3 separate regions of the Homo sapiens genome follow, and regions 1 and 3 are each linked to region 2. Evidence: promoter capture Hi-C in human tissues and cell types (Jung and others, 2019). All regions are on one chromosome and are shown on one strand. The core of a region is centred on a gene start or on the middle of the fragment in contact, and the rest is flanking DNA. Distances in the headings are between cores, read along the strand shown.

Evidence for each region. Contacts are between HindIII fragments. The study calls those that stand out against the background at their distance.
Region 1: a fragment that was not itself captured here is called in contact with the fragment with the promoter of VWC2 in region 2 in 1 of the 25 tissues and cell types used here (stomach).
Region 3: a contact is called between a fragment that was not itself captured here and the fragment with the promoter of VWC2 in region 2, in 1 of the 25 tissues and cell types used here (dorsolateral prefrontal cortex).

Annotation. Positions count from the first base shown.
Region 1 is chr7:48,093,357-48,096,056 of GRCh38, forward strand. UPP1 (uridine phosphorylase 1) reads left to right here. Exons shown (of 9, transcript NM_003364.4): 3 at 1,407-1,471. The coding sequence starts at 1,428. Among named protein-coding and RNA genes, the nearest start is that of UPP1, 5.4 kb to the left of the region's middle. The HindIII fragment of the contact is 6,395 bases long and covers 1-2,700 here.
Region 2 is chr7:49,772,290-49,774,989 of GRCh38, forward strand. It overlaps VWC2 (von Willebrand factor C domain containing 2), which reads left to right and starts at 1,349. Exons shown (of 4, transcript NM_198570.5): 1 at 1,349-1,824. The HindIII fragment of the contact is 7,488 bases long and covers 1-2,700 here.
Region 3 is chr7:48,255,277-48,258,024 of GRCh38, forward strand. All of the region lies in intron 15 of ABCA13 (ATP binding cassette subfamily A member 13), which reads left to right. Among named protein-coding and RNA genes, the nearest start is that of ABCA13, 85 kb to the left of the region's middle. The HindIII fragment of the contact is 3,964 bases long and covers 1-2,748 here.

The DNA of each region.
Region 1 (2,700 bases), core at 200-2,699, 1.7 Mb before region 2:
GGTGGAAACAACTGGCTTGACCTCAGGAAAGCAGCTTCACTTCACAGACTCCTACTGATGTCTTTATGAGCCTTGGATCATCCTGTAGACCCAGTGCTTCACTCTCTTCCTCTCAGCATGAATCCTGCCCACTCTGCAAGGCTTTCCAGGGAGTTGGGGGCCTGGCCATTACAGGGCATTTGGGGATTTGTTTCTTTATTAACTGAGTTCAAAACGTGAGTCTCACCCTCCTTCAAAGAGCTCTGGCAAAACCCTGCCCTTCTCCACACAGAGAAGTGGTCTTGGGGGTTTCTGACTACTGAGCCCTAGTAGAATAACTTCAGGTACGCCACGTTTTTCCTTCATGGGACTTTGCAGTGGAGACGGGGCCGTGGGCTGACTCAGGTCAGCCTCAGTCCCTCTCCCTCCTATGGTGGTCCCCTGTCCCCGCTGCTCCCCCTGGAGCTGATAACTTTTACCCATCTTTGACCCAATTCTTCCTGGGGAGAAGAGCATCTGAGATTCTAGAAAAGTGAGGCAGAGGCCAGGCGCAGTGGCTCACACCTGTAATCCCAGCACTTTGGGAGGCCGAGGCTGGTGGATCACCTGGGGTCAGCAGTTCGAGAACAGCCTGCCCAACATGGTGAAACCCTGTCTCTACTAAAAATACAAAAATTAGCTGAACATGGTGGCGTGTGTCTGTAGTCTCAGCTACTCGGGAGGCTGAGGCAGAAGAATTGCCTGAACCTGGGAGGCGGAGGTTGCAGTGAGCCGAGATGGCACCACTGCACTCCAGCCTGGGTGACAGAGCGAGACTGTCTCTATTAAAAAAAGGGAGGCAGAGAGGTGTGGTGTGTTGGGTCAGTGAGTCTTGACTTGCTGAGCTGGGAAATTGGGAATAAGGGACAGGTTTTTGTTTTGTTTTGTTTTGTTTTTTGAGACGGAGTGTCGCTCTGCAACCTCTGCCTCCCAGGTTCAAGCGATTGTCCTCCCTCAGCCTCCTGAGAGTAGCTGGGATTACAGGCGCCTGCCACCACACCTGGCTAATTTTTGTATTTTTAGTAGAGATGGTGTTTCACTGTATTGGACAGGCTTGTCTTGAACTCATGATCTCCACCCACCTTGGCCTCCCAAAGTGCTGGGTTTACAGGCATAAAGGGGACAGGTTCTCTGGAGGTGTGAGGTGCCTGTCCACTTAGGCTTTTGGCACATTTTCAGCACCTCCTCTCTGAAACTAGCAATGCTATAAACACACATACACACTCTCCTCTCTCTCTGTTTCTATTTCTCACACAATTCACACACTTACATCAGGTGTGTAAGGAATTCCACTTCATTGCACTGACTTTCTACATATTAGTGGGGCTCTGCACGATCTTGGTTTCTACTGAGTGGATTCACTCCATTCTGTGATTTTTTTTCCTTAGGGTCCTGCCTCAGTTGGCGGAATGGCGGCCACGGGAGCCAATGCAGAGAAAGCTGAAAGTCACAAGTAAGGCTCCATTTCATTCCAGGTTGGGTTGGGTGGGGTTGGGTTGTTTATAGAGCATATGTTGTGCCACACATTTTTCTAAGGACTTGACATATATTAACACATTTGATGCTTGTGAAAGAGACTGAGGCCTGGAGGGATTAATGACTCAGGAGGTTCGTACATTAGATGGTTAAAGACCTCCGGGGTCGGGTGCTGGGGCCTCAGCTCTTGATTCTTAGGACATGTTGTTTCAGAAAACCAGACAAGTCCCTGCTCAAATCTCTGTCTAGTAGGTTTTTCCTCTATGTGCCAATTTCTTAAACAAAATCCCCTGCTTATCACTCAGCTCTGCCTTGGTTCTGAATTTTAAATGCCTTCTTATTTCTTTGCAGTTTGTCATACTTCTGGTATGCTTGGCATGACACCACTTGTGTTTAGGCATTGCTAGAAAAGCAAGAATTTCTTGTCTTCATTCTGATTCCTATGTGAACTTTAATCCGCTGATTATTCTTATTTTCTCACCCCCCCAGTTGTCTCCCACCTCTGCTGGGGTTACCTGGGCAGGCCTTCTGTCCTGCCGCCATGGCCTCTCCCCAGTCTTGGTGGCCTCTGACCTTGGCACCACCCAGGGTTGTGGTGACCTCTGGCCCCCCTTGCTCTGGACTCCTGGTCCTTTGTTCCTCTGTAACTTCCCTGAGACCTCTCTGAAGTCTCACATGTGACAGCTGCATACCCAGGTCATAATTCCATATGGACAATGCTCTTCTCCTCCTCCATTCCCCAGAAGTCCTGGTGTCCATTTTGGAGTTTCTGGTGCCTGTGGACATTCCCTGCAGTGATTTTTTTTTTTTGAGATGGAGTTTTGCTCTTGTCGCCCAGGCTGGAGTGCAGTGAGTGGCGCAATCTCAGCTTGCTGCAACCTCTGCTTCCCAGTTTCAAGCAATTCTGGTGCCTCGGCCTCCCAGGTAGCTGGGATTACAGGTGCAAGCCAGCACACTTGGCTAATTTTGTATTTTTAGTAGAGATGGGGTTTCACCATGTTGGCCAGGCTGGTCTCAAACTCCTGACCTCAAGTGATCCACCCGCCTCAGTCTCCCAAAGTGCTGGGATTACGGGCGTGAGCCACTGTGGCCTGCCTCAGTGATTATTTTTTAATTGAACTAATAGTATTCCTGGTATTTTCAGTCATTGACAGCCAAAAATGCCTTGTCCCCAGTTTCTGGAGCTCCCCTCCTTCCTCCTCCTGC
Region 2 (2,700 bases), core at 99-2,598:
GAGAGTGAGAACTGAAACAGCAGAAGGGCTCAAATCATCCTGTACATAGAAATCCTCCATCCAGGCCAGGCGCGGTGGCTCACCAGCATTTTGGGAGACCGAGGCAGGAGGATCACGAGGTCCGGAGATCGAGACCATCATGTCCAACATGGTGAAACCCCGTCTCACTAAAAATACAAAAACAAAATTAGCTGGGGGTGATGGCGGACGACTGTAGTCCCAGCTACTCAGGAGGCTGAGGCGGCAGAAAGGCATGAACCCGGGAATCGAGCTTGCAGTAAGTGGAGATCGCGCCACTGCGCTCCAGGCTAGGCCACAGAGCGAGACTCCGTCTGAAAAAAAAAAAAAAGAGAGAGAGAGAGAGAAAGAAATCCTCCATCCAGCCCTGTTGGTTGTGTATGTGTTGGAGGGGGTGGAGGGGCAGCCTTCTCAGGCTTTCAAGGAGGGCTCCCTAGCACCTCAGCTAAGATTTGTTTGTCTATACTATTAAAAGATAGACATAACTGTGTCCCAAACCAGCCTCCCCAGTTCCCACCAGCCAGAGCGCCTGACCTTGCAGGGAAGCTTATCTGTTTACCGTCCGAGCACTTTCAGGGATTCTAAAATGCCGTGAGTGGGAACCACTGCCATGGGCCATTTCCATGAAAATTCAATTTCGGGGATTAATTTGAACAGGTACTATTGACGTTTTCTCGTTTACACAAGATCAAAGAGTAAAAACAACCGGGCCTCTGCTTAACAGTTGAGGATTCTAGCAAAGTTAGGAAACAGGTTTCTATTTGTAGTAGAAGAGAGAGCAGGCAGAAAGAGGAAGATGGGAGCGGGGAGAGATTGGCAGAGATTCAGAAAGTTCGCGCTTGAGATTTTTACGTTTCTTACTCGTAAACGTCTATTTCTCTGGGTTTCTGAATGCAAAGACGAGAAAGTCTCAACAGTCTGCTAAACTAACACGGCCTTCGAATCCCAATCTGAACACAGTAGCTGAAACAAGCTGTCCACAAAGAGGAAAGCCAGAGGGGGCCAATTAGGAAGGAAGAAATTAAAGAAAAGAGAAAAGCCAAGATGAAAGGTCCAGCGCAAAGTGAATGACTCGACTGGAGAATGGCAGCCCTGGCAGGGTCTGCGGCCGGCTGCGGAGGTGGGGACGCGGCCGCGCGGACGAGTGACAGGTTGGTCCGGCGCAGCAAAGGGAGCGGGTGCGGCGGTAGGGCCTCTCCGGGGGCAGCGCGAGGGCCTCCCCCGGGGCAGCGCGGGCCAAGGCGGGGCCTCCAGAGCGGGGGCAGCAGAGGAGGGAGCGGAACGGGAGCCGGGCGGAGGCGGCTGCGGCAGGGGGAGGCGGGAGGCGGGCGCGCTAGCTCCCATGCTGGCCTCGGTGCCACTCGCGCGCCGGCCGCGCTCCGGGCTTCTCTTTTCCCTCCGACGCGCCACGGCTGCCCAGACATTCCGGCTGCCGGGTCTGGAGAGCTCCCCGAACCCCTCCGCGGAGAGGAGCGAGGCGGCGCCAGGGTGGCCCCCGGGGCGCGCTTGGTCTCGGAGAAGCGGGGACGAGGCCGGAGGATGAGCGACTGAGGGCGACGCGGGCACTGACGCGAGTTGGGGCCGCGACTACCGGCAGCTGACAGCGCGATGAGCGACTCCCCAGAGACGCCCTAGCCCGGTGTGCGCGCCAGGCGGAGCGCGCAGGTGGGGCTGGGCTGTTAGTGGTCCGCCCCACGCGGGTCGCCGGCCGGCCCAGGATGGGCGCTGGCAACCCGGGCCCGCGCCCGCCGCTGCTACCCCTGCGCCCGCTGCGAGCCCGGCGTCCGGCCCGCGCCCTGCGCTCATGTATGTAGGTTTGGCGCCGGTCTTCAGGGCTGAGGGTGCATGCTGGGTGTCCCCGCGCGGCCGGACGCGCTCCAGCTGGGTTCAGCCGCTCAGCTGCTCCGGAGGAACCCCCTCCCCCGCCCAAGTTTGTGAATATGGGCGCTTCGCCCAGTGTTGAGGTCGGCAGGGACCGGGCAGGGGGTCAGCAGGGCCGGGCACGTCCGGAGCCCTCAGGGAGGAGGGCTGAGGGGGAGGGGACAGACGCACCGGAGTGCGCAGAGTGGGGGCGTTCGGGGAGTGAGGCGGAGAGAGGCTGGATTGCCGGTGTCCTGCGGCGTCTCGGGCTCTCCCAGCCCCTTTGGGCGGCAGAAACTTTGGAATCCAGAAAGGCTGGCCGGGATCCAGCGAGTAGGAGGGTCTCGCGCCCACTCTGCGCCCTGGGGCCCCAGCCTCCCGCACTGCACACCTTGGTGCTGCCCGGGCGCTTCTGCTCCGCAGCCAGGACACTACAAGACTGAGCGCTGCGGCCGGCGACCTGGCTCCCAAGGCTCGGAGGGGCGGGCCGGCAGAGGAGCTGAAGCCCCGGGAATCCCCGACCCGGCCCTCTGGCAAGGGGCCGAGGGCATCCTTTCATGCAGCGGGGCTTAGAGAGCGGGGAGGGGGCGTCTGCTCCCGAGACGGGAGTCTTTTAAGAAGTTGTTAGAAATGAATCGTGGAGTCCTAGGAGAAGCTTTGTTTAACCTCCCCGCATTTTCCCAGCACAACCCCCTAAAGCAAATGAGGAAGAGTTTCCCTCTTATCTTCCTGTACATTCGTCCGTCTCTAACTCCACTGCTGAATTCTCCATTTAATAACCTTCGGGAAATGTGGCCAGGACCTAGGGAGGGACACCCTGGG
Region 3 (2,748 bases), core at 110-2,609, 1.5 Mb before region 2:
TTCTAATCTTGGCTTTGCAACAGATTAGCCATGTGATTTGGTGGCAAATTGCTTCAGTTTCCTTATCTATAAATAAGTTTCATAATATTAAAGGAATTAATACTTAAGACAGTATGTGATGATCCCATCACCCAGGTAGTGAACATAGTATCCAATAGTTAGTTTTTCAACCCTTGCCCACCCCTCTTTCCCTAATCTTTAGCTCCCAATTTCTATTGTTGCCACTTTTATATTTATATGTACACCATATTTAGTTCCCACTTATAAATGGGAACATGTGGTATTTGATTTTCTGTTCCTGAATTAATTTTCTGAGAATACTGGCCCCCAGCTACATCCATGTTACTGCAAAGGACATGATTTCATTCTTTTTTATGGCTGTGTAGTGTTTCATGGGAGTATATGTACCACCTTTTCTTTATCCAATCAACTCTTGATGGACATCTAGCTGGATTCCATGACTTTGCTATTGTGAATAGTACTGTGATGAACATATGTGTGCATGTGTCTTTATGGTACAATGATATACATTCCTTTGGGTATATACACAATAATGGGACTGCTGGGTCAAATGGTAATTCTGTTTTCAGTTCTTTAAGAAATTGCCACACTGTTTTCCACGATGTTGATCTAATTTACTTTCCCTCTAACAGTGTGTAAGTGTTCCCGTTTCTCCACAACCTCACCAGCATCTGTTACTTTTTGACTTTTTAATGATAGCCATTCTGACTGCAGTGAGATGGTATCTCAGTGGTTTTGATTTGTATTTCTCTAATGCAGTGGAGTATTTTTTCATATACTTATTGGCCATGTGCATGTCTTCTTCTAAAAAGTGTCTGTTCATGTCTTTTGCCTACTTTTTAATGGGGTTGTTTTTTGCTTGTTGGTTTTTTAAATTCCTTATAGATTCTGGATATTAGACCTTTGTTGGATGCATAGTTTGCAAATATTTTCTCCTGTTCTGTAGGGTGTCTGTTTACTCTCTTGATAGTTTCTTTTGCTGTGCAGAAGCTCTTTAGTTTACTTGGGTCCTATTTGTCGATTTTTTGTTGTTGTTGCAATAACTCTGATATCTTCATCTTGAAATCTTTTCCTGTTCCCATGTGCAGAATGATATTGCCTAGGTTATCTTCCAGGATATTGATAGTTTTAGGTTTAACATTTAAATCTTTAATCCATCTTGAGTTGATTTTTTTATATGAGATGAGAAAGGGATCCAGCTTCAATCTTCTGCACATGGCTAGCCAGTTATTCCAGCACCTTTTATTGATTAAGGAATCCTATCCCTATTGCTAGTTTTTGTCAACTTTGTCAAAGATCGATGGTTTTAGGTGTGTGGCCTTACTTCTGGGCTCTGGGCTGTCTATTCTGTTCCGTTGGTATATGTGTTTTATTTTTTATTTTTATTATTTTACCAGTACCATGTTGTTTTGGTTTCTGTAGCCATGTAGTATAGTTTGGAGGTGGGTAATGTAATCCCTACAGCATTGCTCTTTTGCTTACGATTGCCTTGGCTATTCGGGCACTTTTTTGATTCCATATGAATTTTAAAATAGTTTTTTCAAATTCTGTAAAGAATGTCATCGGTAGTTTGTTAAGAATAACATTGAATCTGTGAATTGCTTTGGGAAATCTTAATAATATTGATTCTTCTTATCCATGAACATGGGATGTTTTTCCATTTGTTTGTATCACCTGTGATTTCTTTGAGCAGTGTTTTTTAATTCTCATTGAGGAGATCTTTCGCCTTCCTGGTTAGCTGTATTCCTAGGTATTTTATTCTTTTTGTGGCTATTGTGAATGTGATTCTGTTCTTGATTTGGCTTTCATCTTGGATATTGTTGGTTTGTACATTGATTTTCTATTCTGAAACTTTGCTGAAGTTGCTTATCAGATCTAGGGGCTCTGGGGCAGACTATGGGGTTTTCTAGGTATAGGATTGTATCATCTTGCAAACAAGGATAAAACTATCCCTGTTTGGAGACTTCCTCTCTTCCTGTTTGGCTGCCTTTTATTTCTTTCTCTTGCCTGATTGCTCTGGATAGGACTTTCAGTATTATGGTGAATAGGAGTGGTGAGAGTGGTCATCCTTGTCCTGTTACAGTTCTAAAGGGAAATTCTTCTAGCTCTTTCCCACTTAGTATGATTTTGGCTGTGTGTTTTTCATCGATGGGCTGTTATTACTTTGAGGTATGTTCCTTCATTGCCTAGTTTGTTAAGGGTTTTTAAAATGAAGGGATGTTGAATTTTATCAATAGCCTTTTCTGCATCTATTGAGATGATCATGTGGTTTTTGTTTTTAGTTCTGTTTATGTGATAAATCACATTTACTGATTTGTATATGTTGGACCAAACTTTCAACCCTGGGATAAAGCCTACTTGATTGTAGTGGATTAGCTTTCTGATGTGTTGCTGATTTGGTTTGATAGTATGTTGTTGAGGATTTTTGCATCTATGTTCATCAAGCATACTGGCCTGAAATTTTTGTTGTTGTTGTTTTGTGTCTCTGCCAGGGTTTGGTATCAGGATGATGCTAGGCTCATAGAATGAGTTAGGGAGGGGTCCCTCCTCTGCAATTTTTTGGATTAGTTTCAGTAGGGATGGTATCAGTTCTTCTTTATACATTTGGTAGAATTCACCTGTTGCTTATTTATTTATTTTTTTTGAGACAGGATCTCACTCTGTTGCCCAGGCTGGAGTGAAGTGATGCAGTCGAGGCTCACTGCACCCTCGACCTCCCAGGGTCAA